4 separate regions of the Homo sapiens genome follow, and regions 1, 2 and 4 are each linked to region 3. Evidence: promoter capture Hi-C in 16 types of primary human blood cells and fetal thymus (Javierre and others, 2016). All regions are on one chromosome and are shown on one strand. Each heading gives the region's core, a stretch centred on a gene start or on the middle of the fragment in contact. The rest is flanking DNA. Distances are from core to core; before and after follow the strand shown. Region 1 has its middle 31 kb from the start of PSMB1. Region 2 overlaps PSMB1 (proteasome 20S subunit beta 1). Region 3 holds the start of ERMARD (ER membrane associated RNA degradation). Region 4 overlaps LINC01624 (long intergenic non-protein coding RNA 1624).

The links. The method cuts DNA at HindIII sites, captures the fragments that hold promoters and counts their contacts. A CHiCAGO score of 5 or more calls a contact.
Region 1: a contact is called between a fragment that was not itself captured here and the fragment with the promoter of ERMARD in region 3, in 8 of 17 cell types (endothelial precursors, total B cells, monocytes and 5 more). The highest score is 8.4, in endothelial precursors.
Region 2: a contact is called between a fragment that was not itself captured here and the fragment with the promoter of ERMARD in region 3, in 16 of 17 cell types (monocytes, total CD4 T cells, M1 macrophages and 13 more). The highest score is 19.3, in monocytes.
Region 4: a contact is called between a fragment that was not itself captured here and the fragment with the promoter of ERMARD in region 3, in 1 of 17 cell types (activated CD4 T cells). The highest score is 5.8, in activated CD4 T cells.

Annotation. Positions count from the first base shown.
Region 1 is chr6:170,520,492-170,523,329 of GRCh38, reverse strand. No RefSeq gene overlaps it. Among named protein-coding and RNA genes, the nearest start is that of PSMB1, 31 kb to the left of the region's middle. The HindIII fragment of the contact is 3,242 bases long and covers 1-2,838 here.
Region 2 is chr6:170,537,829-170,540,628 of GRCh38, reverse strand. All of the region lies in intron 4 of PSMB1 (proteasome 20S subunit beta 1), which reads left to right. Among named protein-coding and RNA genes, the nearest start is that of PSMB1, 14 kb to the left of the region's middle. The HindIII fragment of the contact is 302 bases long and covers 1,391-1,692 here.
Region 3 is chr6:169,750,149-169,753,121 of GRCh38, reverse strand. ERMARD (ER membrane associated RNA degradation) reads right to left here and starts at 1,500. Exons shown (of 18, transcript NM_018341.3): 1 at 1,459-1,500. The coding sequence starts at 1,464. DYNLT2 (dynein light chain Tctex-type 2) reads left to right here and starts at 1,550. Exons shown (of 4, transcript NM_174910.3): 1 at 1,550-1,783. The coding sequence starts at 1,664. The HindIII fragment of the contact is 8,653 bases long and covers 1-2,973 here.
Region 4 is chr6:170,277,717-170,280,568 of GRCh38, reverse strand. LINC01624 (long intergenic non-protein coding RNA 1624) reads right to left here. Exons shown (of 2, transcript NR_104177.1): 2 at 1,100-1,360. Among named protein-coding and RNA genes, the nearest start is that of LINC01624, 6.7 kb to the right of the region's middle. The HindIII fragment of the contact is 1,685 bases long and covers 610-2,294 here.

The DNA.
Region 1 (2,838 bases), core at 196-2,695, 770 kb before region 3:
GAATGCATCTGAGCAGGGCTCACTCAGCAGGTGGATGACTTGGGGCCTCAGAGAAACCCTGGGTTTTCCAAGGAGCCCTGAATGTTTATAAGACATCAGGTTAGAACAGGAGTCCAGGGGCGATATGTTAGAAAACCTAACAAGAACTGGACATTTACAAGAAGTCAGGTGTAAGGACTGAGGAGACGTGGTTTCTTTACTTTTGCAGAACAGCTGTGCAGCCAGTCCCTGGGATGGGCTCCTGTCCGGGGCTGCGCACTCACAGGCTGCCAGAGTGAGCAATGGAAAGGCAGGTTAGGCTTCTCCCCATGCTACTCAGGCCGCTGTGCTCCACCACAGCCTACGGGAGGCAGCCAAGCTCCTCTGCTACGTGTACTGTCAGAGGCTGGTCACCTCCCCTCACTTTTAAGGGTCTCTGACCCTCACTTTTCTGGCAACAGCAAGTTGCTTATCGTTGCCCAAAGATACTGAAGTGGTTGTAGGCTCTGGAATCCAAAAGACAGAGAATCAGGCCTACCCCATCTCTTCCTGTCTGTGTGGCCTCAGGCAGTTAGTGGAAGTCCGTAGGCCTTGCTCCCTCACTTATGAAATGTGGATGATAGTACCTTCCTCATAGGCACCCAGTGAAGAGTACATGAGATAATGTTTGTAAAGCTCTTGTTCCAGTGCCTAACACAGTACGTCCTCAGTGAATCACAGTTATTCCTGTTATGCCTTACAGGCTATTTTCCCAGCGGGGACCCACAACCCCTCCATGCACCCCTAGCTCCCATATGCCTGGAAACTCACATTCATCTTTCAAACGTGAGTCAAGTTTTGACTCAAGTGTGCCTCTCTGTGAAGCTGCCTCTGATCCCGTCCCCCGCCTTCTTTTTCTCTGTCCATTTCCATTTCTTATGACTGCATAGTATTCCATAGTGTATATGTACCACATTTTCTTTATCTAATCCACTGTTGATAGGCACCTAGGTTGATTCCATGTCTTTGCTATTGTCAGTAGTGCTGTGATGAATGTGTGTGTGCATGTCTTTTTTTCTTTTTGAGACAGAGTTTCGCTCTTGTTGCCCAGGCTGGAGTGCAATGATGTGCAAACTCTGCCTCCTGGGTTCAAGCAATTCTTCTGCCTCAGCCTCCTGAGTAGCTGGGATTACAAGCATGCGCTACCACACCTGGCTAATTTTGTATTTTTAGTAGAGACAAGGTTTCTCCATGTTGGTCAGGCTGGTCTCAAACTCCCAACCTCAGGTCATCCTCCAACTTCGGCCTCCCAACGTGCTGGGATTACAGGCGTGGGCCACTGTGCCCAGTGCATGTGTCTTTTTGGTAGAATGAATTGTTTTCATTTGGATATATACCCAGTAGTGGGATTGCTGGGCCAAATTGTAGTGCTGTTTTAACTTTTTCAAGAACTCTTCAAACTGCTTTCTATAGTGGCTGAACTAATTAACCTTCCCACCAACAGTGTATAATTATTCCTTTTTCTCCACAGCATCACAGCATCTGTTGTTTTTTGACTGTTTAGTAATAGCCATTTTGACTGGTGTGAGATGGTATCTCATTGTGGTTTTGATTTGCATTTCTCTGATGATTAGTGATATGGAGCATTTTTTTGCGTTTGTTGGCTGCATGTCTGTCTTCTTTTGAGGAGCGTCTTTTCATGTCTTTTGCCCATTTTTTAATGGGGTTGTTTTTTGCTTGTTCATTTGTTTAAGTTCCTTGTAGGTTCTGGATATTAGACCTTTGTCAGATGTGTGTTTTTTGAATATTTTCTCCCATTCCGTAGGTTGTCTGTTTACTCTGTTGATAGTTTCTTTTGCTGTGCAGAAGCCCTTTAATTATGTCCCACTTGTCAATTTTTGTTTTTGTTGAAATTGCTTTTGAGGACTGAATTACAAGTTCTTTCCTAAGGCTAATGTCTAGAATGGTTTTTCCTAGGTTTTCTTCTAGGATTCTTAACAGTTTGAGGTCTTACATTTAAATCTTTAATCCACATGAACTAATTTTTGTATACGGTGAAAGGTAGGAATCCAGTTTCATTCTTCTGTGTATGACTAGACAGCGAACCCAGCACCATTTATTGTTTAGAGAGCCCTTTCCCCATTGCTTATTTTTGTTGACTTTGTTGAAGATCAGATGGCTGTAGGTGTGTGGCTTTATTTCTGGGTTCTGTATTCTGTTCCATTAGTCTATGTGTCTGTTTTTGTACCAGTGCCAAGTTATTTTGGCTACTGTAGTATTATAGTATAGTTTGAAGTCGGATAATGTGATGCCTCTGGCTGTGTTCTTCTTGCTTAATATTGCTTTGGCTATTTGGATTTTTTTTTGTTCCATATGAATCTTACAGTAGTTTTTTCTAGTTATTTGAAAAATGACATTGGTAGTTTGATAGGAATAGCATTGAATCTGTAGATTACTTTGGGCAGTATGGCCAGATTAATGATACTGATTCTTCCAGTCCATGGGTAGGGAATGTTTTTCCATTTGTTTGTATCATCTATGATTCCTTTCAGCAGTGTTTTGTAGTTCTTCTTGTAGAGATCTTTCACCTCCTAGTTAGATGTATTCCTAGGTATTTTATTTTCTTTGTGGCTGTTGTAAATGAGATCATGTTCTTGATTTGGTTCTCAGCTTGAATGTTATTGGTGTATAAAAATGCTACTGATTTTTATACATTGACTTTGTATTCTACAACCTTACTGAAATTGTTTATCAATTCTAGGAGCCTTTTGGTGGAGTATTTAGGGTTTTCTAGGTATAGAAACATATCATCTGCTAAGAGAGATAATTTGACTTCTTTTTTTCCTATTTGTATGTCTTTTATTTTTTTCTCTTGCCTGA
Region 2 (2,800 bases), core at 292-2,791, 790 kb before region 3:
CCTTCAAATCTCTGATTTTTTTTTTTTTTTTTTTTTTTTTGCTGTCCATTCACATTGAAGAGTCTTGTACCAAAATTTGATTATGAAAGTCCTTGTTGACATGGCTTGTCAACTGACAGCCGTTAACTGGGTGCTTAAGTAAGCAGCATTTTCTTCAGATGAAGAATTTCTTTAATCTTTTTTCCTGAGGTGAGGTGGGACTACAGGAAGAGAAGCCCGGTTGGCAGCTTTTTAGGCCTCAGAGGAGGAAGGGGGCTGAAGGTCTGTGTTTTGTTTACATCAACTTTCCATTTCATGTGTTTTGCTCCTACCCTTTGCCACTCTAGAGCCTGGTCCCCTAAGTCCAGAGCCTCTGCTAATGTCTCAGGAGACTTCCTTTACTGTCTTCTGTGTTGGTGGATGCAGGGACCTGGAGAGCAGTGCTCCATATTGAAACCTTCAGGACAGCAAGGTCCACAGCTCTTTCCCTTGGTGTCAACCGCTGTCTGCACTAACCTCTCTGTCTTTAATCTCTTAGCTGCTCTCATGCCTTTTAAAAATTTTTCTCCCAAATTAAAAGTGGCTTTAGTTTTTCTGTAGTGAAAACAATCAGTACATGTTTATACATACACTCATGCAGTTTTATGTAAGTAGGACTTTGGTATCTGTTTTTCTGTAACTATACATTATGTATTATCAAGGAGATCTAAGCTATATGCATAATGATTTTTGTATTTAATTAACAAAAAATTTTTTTGTCTTCTGTTTTTGCTGCTGTAATACATAGCATCATTTACCTAACCAGTCCTCTAAAGGGCATTTTGGCTTCCTGTTTTCTTAATATAAACACTATGATGAACATCCTTGTACATACATTTTTGTGTACTTCCCCAATTATGCTTGTCTTGCTAGAATAAACTTCGAGTAGTTGAAGTATTGGGTCAGATAAATTTTTTTTTGTATTTTGTTGAGTATACTCTTTCTGAAGGATACGCCAGTACCCTGAGTACCCGATTTTATATAACCTTCCCAGTATTAGAATTAACACATTTTGAAACATCTTTTTGCCTATTGAACAGTTTATTATTTTCATTTATATATATTCTTGGGCATGTTTTCATATGTTTATTGACTTTATAAATTTCCTCTTTGGAGACTGATTCATATATTAACTGTTGCCCATTTCCTTATTTGCAGGTTAGTTTTCTTCTTACTGATTTTCAAGAACTACATTCGACTGTGTCAAATGTCTGTGATATTATAGATACTCCCAAGAGTGTTATTTGTCTCTTTTGGGTGGTGCCTTTTGCTACACAGAAATTGCTGTGTTTCATACAGTCTAATCTGTCAATCATTTCTTTATGACATTCAGTTTCTTGCCTTGTTAGAAAAACTTCTCCCATCCAAAGCTTAGCTGTATTTCTTTTAAGACTTGTCTGATTTTATTTTTTACATTGAAATGATTGTGCTTTTTGGATTTTACTTTGATGAGGAAAAGCACTTTGTAATCAAGATTCATGCCATTCTACATTTATTTTTGTTTTTATTTATTGATTTTTGCTGTTTTATACTGATTTTACTAGTGTCTCTCTTGCTTCTTCTAGGGGGTCTTTAAAGCTGTGTTCTTGGACATAGCCCACCCTTTCTTTGGTTTATTTTTTTAAATTTGTTGTGTGTGGTTTTCTGAGATTGGTTCCATCCTTGGGTAAAGCTTTTGGGCCTCAGTTTACTTGTGGCCTGTCATCCTCATGAGAGATACAATCATTTTTCTGCCTTTACACCTTACATCTCTTTCTTTTTTTGTATATTGAGGTTAGTGGATTGCCTGCTGTGATCTCATGTCTTGTCCCAAGCTTGCTTCCAGCAAAAATACTTCCCAGTTTCTTAGGTGACCTCAGATGGTGCCTTCTCCACCAGAGAATTCAGTTTACACAATCCTTTTTCTTTTTTTGAGACCAAGTCTCGCTCTGTTGCCCAGGCTGGAGTGCAGTGGCATGATCTCGGCTCACCACAACCTCCGCCTCCTGGGTTCAAGCGATTCTCCTGCCTCAGCCTCCCAAGTAGTTGGGAATAGAGGCACGTGCCACCATGCTCAGCTAATTTTTGTATTTTTAGTAGAGATGGGGTTTCACTGTGTTGGCCAGGCTGATCTCGAACTCCTGACCTCGTGATCGGCCCACCTCAGCCTCCCAGAGTGCTGGGATTACAGGCGTGAGCCACCGCGCCTGGCCAAGTTTACGCAGTTCTATAGTAGAAAACATACAAAGCTAACAGTGGCAGTTGTACATGGTTAGTAAGGAGATTGTCCCTATATCACATCTCCCAGGGTACTGAGTTCTGGTATATAATGTGTTTTCTAAATCAGTTATGTTTTTAAAAAATCATACCTTGTAAATGACTCGTGATTTCTCATACCCAGAACACGGTTGTTTTTAACAGGCCTTTTTAACGATTGTAGAATCACCTGTGTTCTTTGTAACAAACTCAAATAAGATAGAAGCACATGAATTAATTCCCTTCTTTTCTTGCCTCTAATTCAGAGCTCAAAGATGACCAGCCACAGTTACTTATCTTTCCAGACTTTTTTGTGCTTGTACAAATAGTTTTCTTATTCTTTTAAACAAAAGCAGTATCGTATTTTACAGGTTACAGAATTCTCTTCGTTTTACTGTGTCTTGCGGATGTGTCCCTTGGACCTGTCTATATACATAAGTCGTGCTTTCCTTCAAGTTCTCCTCTTCGTTAGCTTAGGAGAGCCAAGAAATAAAGACTTTCTTACAAATGACTGTTTGAGTTTGGCTGATGTGTCCTACAGAAACCT
Region 3 (2,973 bases), core at 251-2,750:
ATGTATCTACCTTCCCAATTTCCTGCCCTTTGAAGCCTAAAACTGCTCTCCTGTGTCCTGTCACTTCTCTGCAAATCTACAGTTCTTTGTTGAAGATGGTATACAAATGTAGTTCTAAGCCACCATTTCAAGTTACTTCTCATTAAGGTTTATCCCTTGTGATGTGTACTCTGTCCAAGAATAAACTTTTTTCTTGTTATCCTTTCATTTGTTAAAGGGGTCACTCCGAACTAAGATGGGCAGAGGTAAAGTTTAGCCTTCCCTGCCATGTAAAAAGTAGCAAACCGTACTGGTTTTCCATGGAGAATTAAATACAATCGAAATCCTCACAATTACCCCACATGACACTAAGACCATCGTATAAACCTGCAAAGAAGTCAAATTCAGGATCTAAAGCGGAACCGAAGCTCTTTATTTTGGTGTGTTGAGTTAAGGGGGGGCTGTGTTGTGACAGTCATAATTAGCTCTGGGCAGCTTCCTAATGTGGAAACTGCTATCAGTTGCCCTGTTTGCTCCTCCTGCACCCAGAAGTTGCACTTTCCACTCTCAGCCCTGGTTTTCGAACAATCCCAGCAGGCCCTAACAATTAAGTCATCACTAAAGAAATCTACATCAACTATTTGTTGATTGGCGATTGTCACTCGCATCCTCCATGTGGCTCTATGGGGCTGGAACTCTGCAGACTACACTGGGCCGGTGCTTTGGAGCTGGACTTAAATTTGAATCATTCCTCAGCCTCTGACTACCTCTTGCCTTGGAAAAGTTACTTTATCGGAATCTCAGTTCTAAGTGAAATAAAACGGTGCCAGGCTGCACCTGGTAGGGCTACAGTAATCAGATAACACATGAAAAGCATCTAGCACATAGTACTCAAAAATGGTAGTTATCGTTATCATCATTTTGGAGACGGGGTCTCGCCGTCGCCCAGACAGGGGTGCAGTGGCGCGATCTCGGCTCACTGCAGCCTCCACCTCCTGGGCTAAAGCGATCCTTCCACCTCAGCCTACGGAGTAGATGGGACCACAGGCCCCACCACGCCCGGCGATGAACACAAATTTACTGTCCGAGTGTGGACCCTACAGGCAGCGACTAGGAAACTGCGCTTCTAGGAACGAGCCACGGTCAGGTGAGAGCCCGACCTGCGGCTTTCCGCCCCCGCGCCACCGCGCACAGCCCTCCCTGACCGTCCGCCGCGTTCCAGCTCAGGGCCAGGAGGCGACGGAGAAACCGAGCCTGGCCCAGGGAGGCCGGCAGGGCCCGCCAGGCGTCTTGCAGGGCCGAGCGTCCGATACCGCCACAGAGGCCAGGGCCGCGACGTCGCCAGCGCCCTCCAGCGCGGGACCGCCGGCCACCGCAGGCGCGTGCTCGCTCGCCCACTCCGCGTAGCCGAGCACCACCCAGCCTGGCGCCGACTCCCTGCCTAGCTCGGGATCGAACCGGGCCCTACACCCGCCCTACCTCCATAACTTCCGGTGCCCCGCTGCGGCGCGCGTGAATGACGCAGGCGCCTGCGCGCCCCTCCTCCAGGCGCTTTGGAGCCCTGGCGGGCACTTCCTACCGTACGAGGCGCAGGTGGGAGACTTCCGCCCTCGCGGGACTGGCTAGGGCGTTTGACCGCCGGCGGTGAAGGGGAGGCGGTGGGCGTCTTGGAGAACAGAGCGAGATGGAGAAGCGAGGCCGAGGCGTGAAGTCGAGCCCCATCCAGACCCCGAACCAGACCCCTCAGCAGGCTCCGGTGACGCCTAGGAAAGAAAGGAGGCCTAGCATGTTCGAGAAGGAGGCAGTGAGTGCGGAGACTGCTAGGGGCCCGAGACGGCTATGTCCGACCGTTTAAGTGAAATCGCTCCCCAGTGGGCCCCGCTCCCGTCACCACCCCCAGAGCCAAGGAGGCAGCATCTCCCTTTTGTGTTTCTTTTTTCCCCAGATGCGAAATTGAAGCCTGAGACTGAGTTGGGCAGTCCCCTTTGGACTTGAGTGCTAAAGTTTTCTTGTTTTTTAATTAGGGCCATAGAACCCTACATAAGTCGATTGGAAGGGTGGTTACAAGATCTTCTTTTCAAATTTACTCAGCTTGCGGATTTCCTGAGAGTACTCTGAGTATTATTGCTTTGTACTAAAACACAGTATGTTAGTGTATTTAGTGCCATTATAAGCAGTTTTGCTAGCGAAAAATGAGTGTGTTGTATTAAAAAAATAATTTGATAAACCAGGCAGAATAGTGCCATGTTTTGGGTTTTTAAAACATCAGCAGTCTGGATATTTGAAGAATGTACAGGAGAAAAAAACTTAAGTTGAAAATACCCTGTCCAAAACTTACTGATATTGATGGAAAGGGTCATTATTCAGTTTTATTGGTGGTATAACAGGTATTTCTATATGATTAGGCTTTGAAAACCGTTAATGTATTAAAGACTCTATATTTTATTGATACTTTAACAGAAAATTAGTTTGCCCAAGGATACAAAGCTGTAATGATAGAGCTGGGACCAGAACCTGTATGCTAGTACTCGGTCCAATTGGCCTATACTGGTTTCTCTTCGTACTTACTTCGTGGACCTATAATAGGATGAAGATAGAGATGACAGGCAAAACAATTTTTTGAAGACCCTAAAACATTTTAAGATTACTCTTAAAAAGAGAATTCTCAAAATAATGGCGAAATTTCAGGTTCTTGTTTCCCTGGTGTCTACATTTTACAGAGGAAAGAACGAACTAAATAAAGGAGGAAAAGCAAACAGGCCAAGTTTACACAGCTAAGAAAAAGAGCAGAGCAGGGCTAGAAACCTAAATCAGTTGGACTTAAAACTTCACACTCCCAAACACTATGCTGTATTTCTTGGCAATGAGTCTGAGTAACAGGTCACCAACAGTAAAGAAAAATTTCTATATATTGAGGCAGACAAGGGTGGCTTTTATAAACTTACTGCCTATCTGAGGTCTGAAGTGGTCTTTAAAATTCAATGAGCCTGAACT
Region 4 (2,852 bases), core at 203-2,702, 530 kb before region 3:
AAACGGCAGCGTCTGCAGCAGTGCTGGGAGCACCTCCTCCCGTCTGCAGGGGACGGTGCCTTTCAGGGCACGGTTCTGCGCATGTGCTCAGCTGGCGCCAGCGAACGGCTTCCGGCTGCTCTTAGCGTGGAGTTCAAAATCCTTGACTTGGCCTCTCAGGTCATGCACCATCCGGCTCCCGCCTGTCTTGGAGCCTCGTTTCGTTATTCTCCCACGGGTCTGTTACCGCTCGGCTCCAGCCAGCGCCCTGGCAGCCTGGTTCTCCATCCGCCCCCACTCTGCGACTTTGAGTGGGATCTTCCATCTGTCTGGTGACTTCCAGTGTGACCTTCTTCCGCCACGAAAATGACCCGCCTGGGTTACCTGCCGCACGTGATGGTGCTCTTGCAGTTTGCCCTGTGGCATGATTAATTCGTGTAGCTGTTTGTTTAGTGGGCGTGTGTCCCAGGAGACTGCAACCTCAAAGAGGGCGGGCTGTGTTGGCCCTGGTTCACCACTGCAACCCAATCCCCACTTGAGGCTGAAGCAAGAAAACGTTCTCTATCCATGTGAGCTATAATTTGAGAACACACAGACACACACTCAGGACATTTCATCATGAAAGAAGCTTCATTCTCGTGTTCACTCTTACCAATGTCACTAGGAGTTTCGAACCATAACATGAAGCCAAACACAGGGATTATCTGAGCGGATGAACATAGTATTCTGTTTTTATTCTAATAACTGGCTGCCTAGATACAGCCCTGTATATGGTAAGAGTGCGTCTACTTGGTATCCAGCAAACAAAGTGTTATGCATTAGTAATTCCTCAGTCCATGCATTTTACAGAAAAGGCAGAGGGAAGGTAAATCGTTTCCTGAGGAACAGCTGAATGTCTAGAAACGTCAAGATGAAGAGTAGAATTTTGCATGCAAGGACACGCGCCATGAGCACCAGGCCTCACACGCAGGAGGCACACAGTACGTCTGTGTTGAATGTAGTATCTTCCACTACAAGGATAAGGAAACAAAAAGTACTTAGAAACTTTACACATTTGTCATTTGGAAACAATTCAGAGATAAGTTTTTAAGATGATATGTATTAGTGCAGAGTACTAGAATTTTTCCGGAACAACTTTCATTACATTTATTTGCTCAAACAAGTGACTATTTCCATTTTGGAGAAGCCCAACTGAGCTAAATCACTTTGCCACTGAGGAGGGCTGGGGAGGTGGCAGGGGTGCCATCAAGGTGTCGTCTGGCTAACACACATTCTTTCTATTTTTCTTGTTTCTTATGGAAACATTCATGGCTCCACGCCTGGCATTTGCTGAATCCATCTTCTAGAGATTACGATTTTAATAGAATCCGGAGTGAGGTACCTGAGGAAGGCAGAATGAAGCAGCATTTTAAAATGTATTGCAACATGAGCATCAGAACCTTTTGTTTTTTTTAAAGCACAGAAAAGAAAAATGACAAGACTCATGTCATTAATTACGTTCTCAAAGAAAATAAGGTCAGTGTAAGAGGAAATCATCTAAAATTGCAGGACAGGGCATTCTCGTTGGATCGAGGCATGAAGAAAACTTCAAGGCTGTCAGTGGTTTATCGAGGAAGTGGTAGAATCTTCCTCGGATACGATTTTTAGAAGACAAGCCAACCTTCCATGGCAAGAGGTGCAGACGTGTGCCTCAGCTGCCAAGGGCCTCCCAGGCTGTTTCCTGTGCACCAACTTCCTCTGCTTCCTCGGTGTCTAAACCCATGGTCAAAGCACCATTCACGAAAAGCATGTTACTGTTTTAAGTTAATTTGAACTTTAAAATTATTGAACCATAAGGAAAAATATCTCTGCTTTGTGGTCCTGGATATTTTACAAGAACCTTGATTCCTTTAGTGAATCTTAATTCACAGCTCAGTGCTGGGATATTCAACAAATAAAATCACTTTTCAGAGACAGGATCAGAATCTGCTACTTCCTGCTCCTCAGCCTGCCTTGCCAAACCCCCAAGTGGCACCCTGGTGTAGACATTATGGACCTCAACAGCAGTACTTTAGCCTGATGCCTAGAACCTCTTACACTTTTATGGAAGTGGCCTAAGAGTGTTTGTGACGGGATTCGTGGTGTCTCCAACTTTCTCTCTTGCGCTGTCCCACCCTGACCTGTGGGGGGAGAGAGGAAGGAAGGAAGAAGGGGGGAAGGGCGTCTGGTGTCAGACGCTTACAATAGGAATTGCTCACCTGCAGAAGGGCAAGTATTGTTTCTTCTAGAATTAGTATGAATTGGATTTTGTGAATTTCAGCTCTTTCTTAGAAGCTTAGAAAAAAATTTGGTATAAACATTTGAAATAAAAAAATGCAATAAGCAACAGAGTTAGATCTTGTCTCTACAAAAAAATTTTAAAAGAATTAGCTGAGTGTGCTGGTGGCACCTGTGGTCCCAACTACTCAGGAGGCTGAGGCAGGAGGACGGCTTGAGCCCAGGAGGCCGAGGCTTCAGTGAGCTGTGATTGCGCCACTGCACTCCAGCCTGGGGGACAGAGCAAGACTTCATCTTAAAAAAAAAAAAAAAAGCAATATTAAAAAGGTGTATTGAAAAGGGAAAAACACTCTAAATTTGAGAGTTTTAGTTAAAATGAAAAAGCAACAGTTAGGACCATTTCTGATCCTCAAAGTCAATACTTTTGAAACAGGAGAGGGAAGGGAGGTGGGGGAGCCCTGGAGCTGCTCCCAACGAGTGGGGCAGGGGCCTCAGACGCAGGCTCTAGAGCCCAGGCTGGACCTGGCAGAGGACAGTTCAGTGTCTCTGTAGTCAAACAGGTGTCAGAAATATCATGAAACCCCCAGTTTATTCGTCATGATTACACTCTAGCCCTG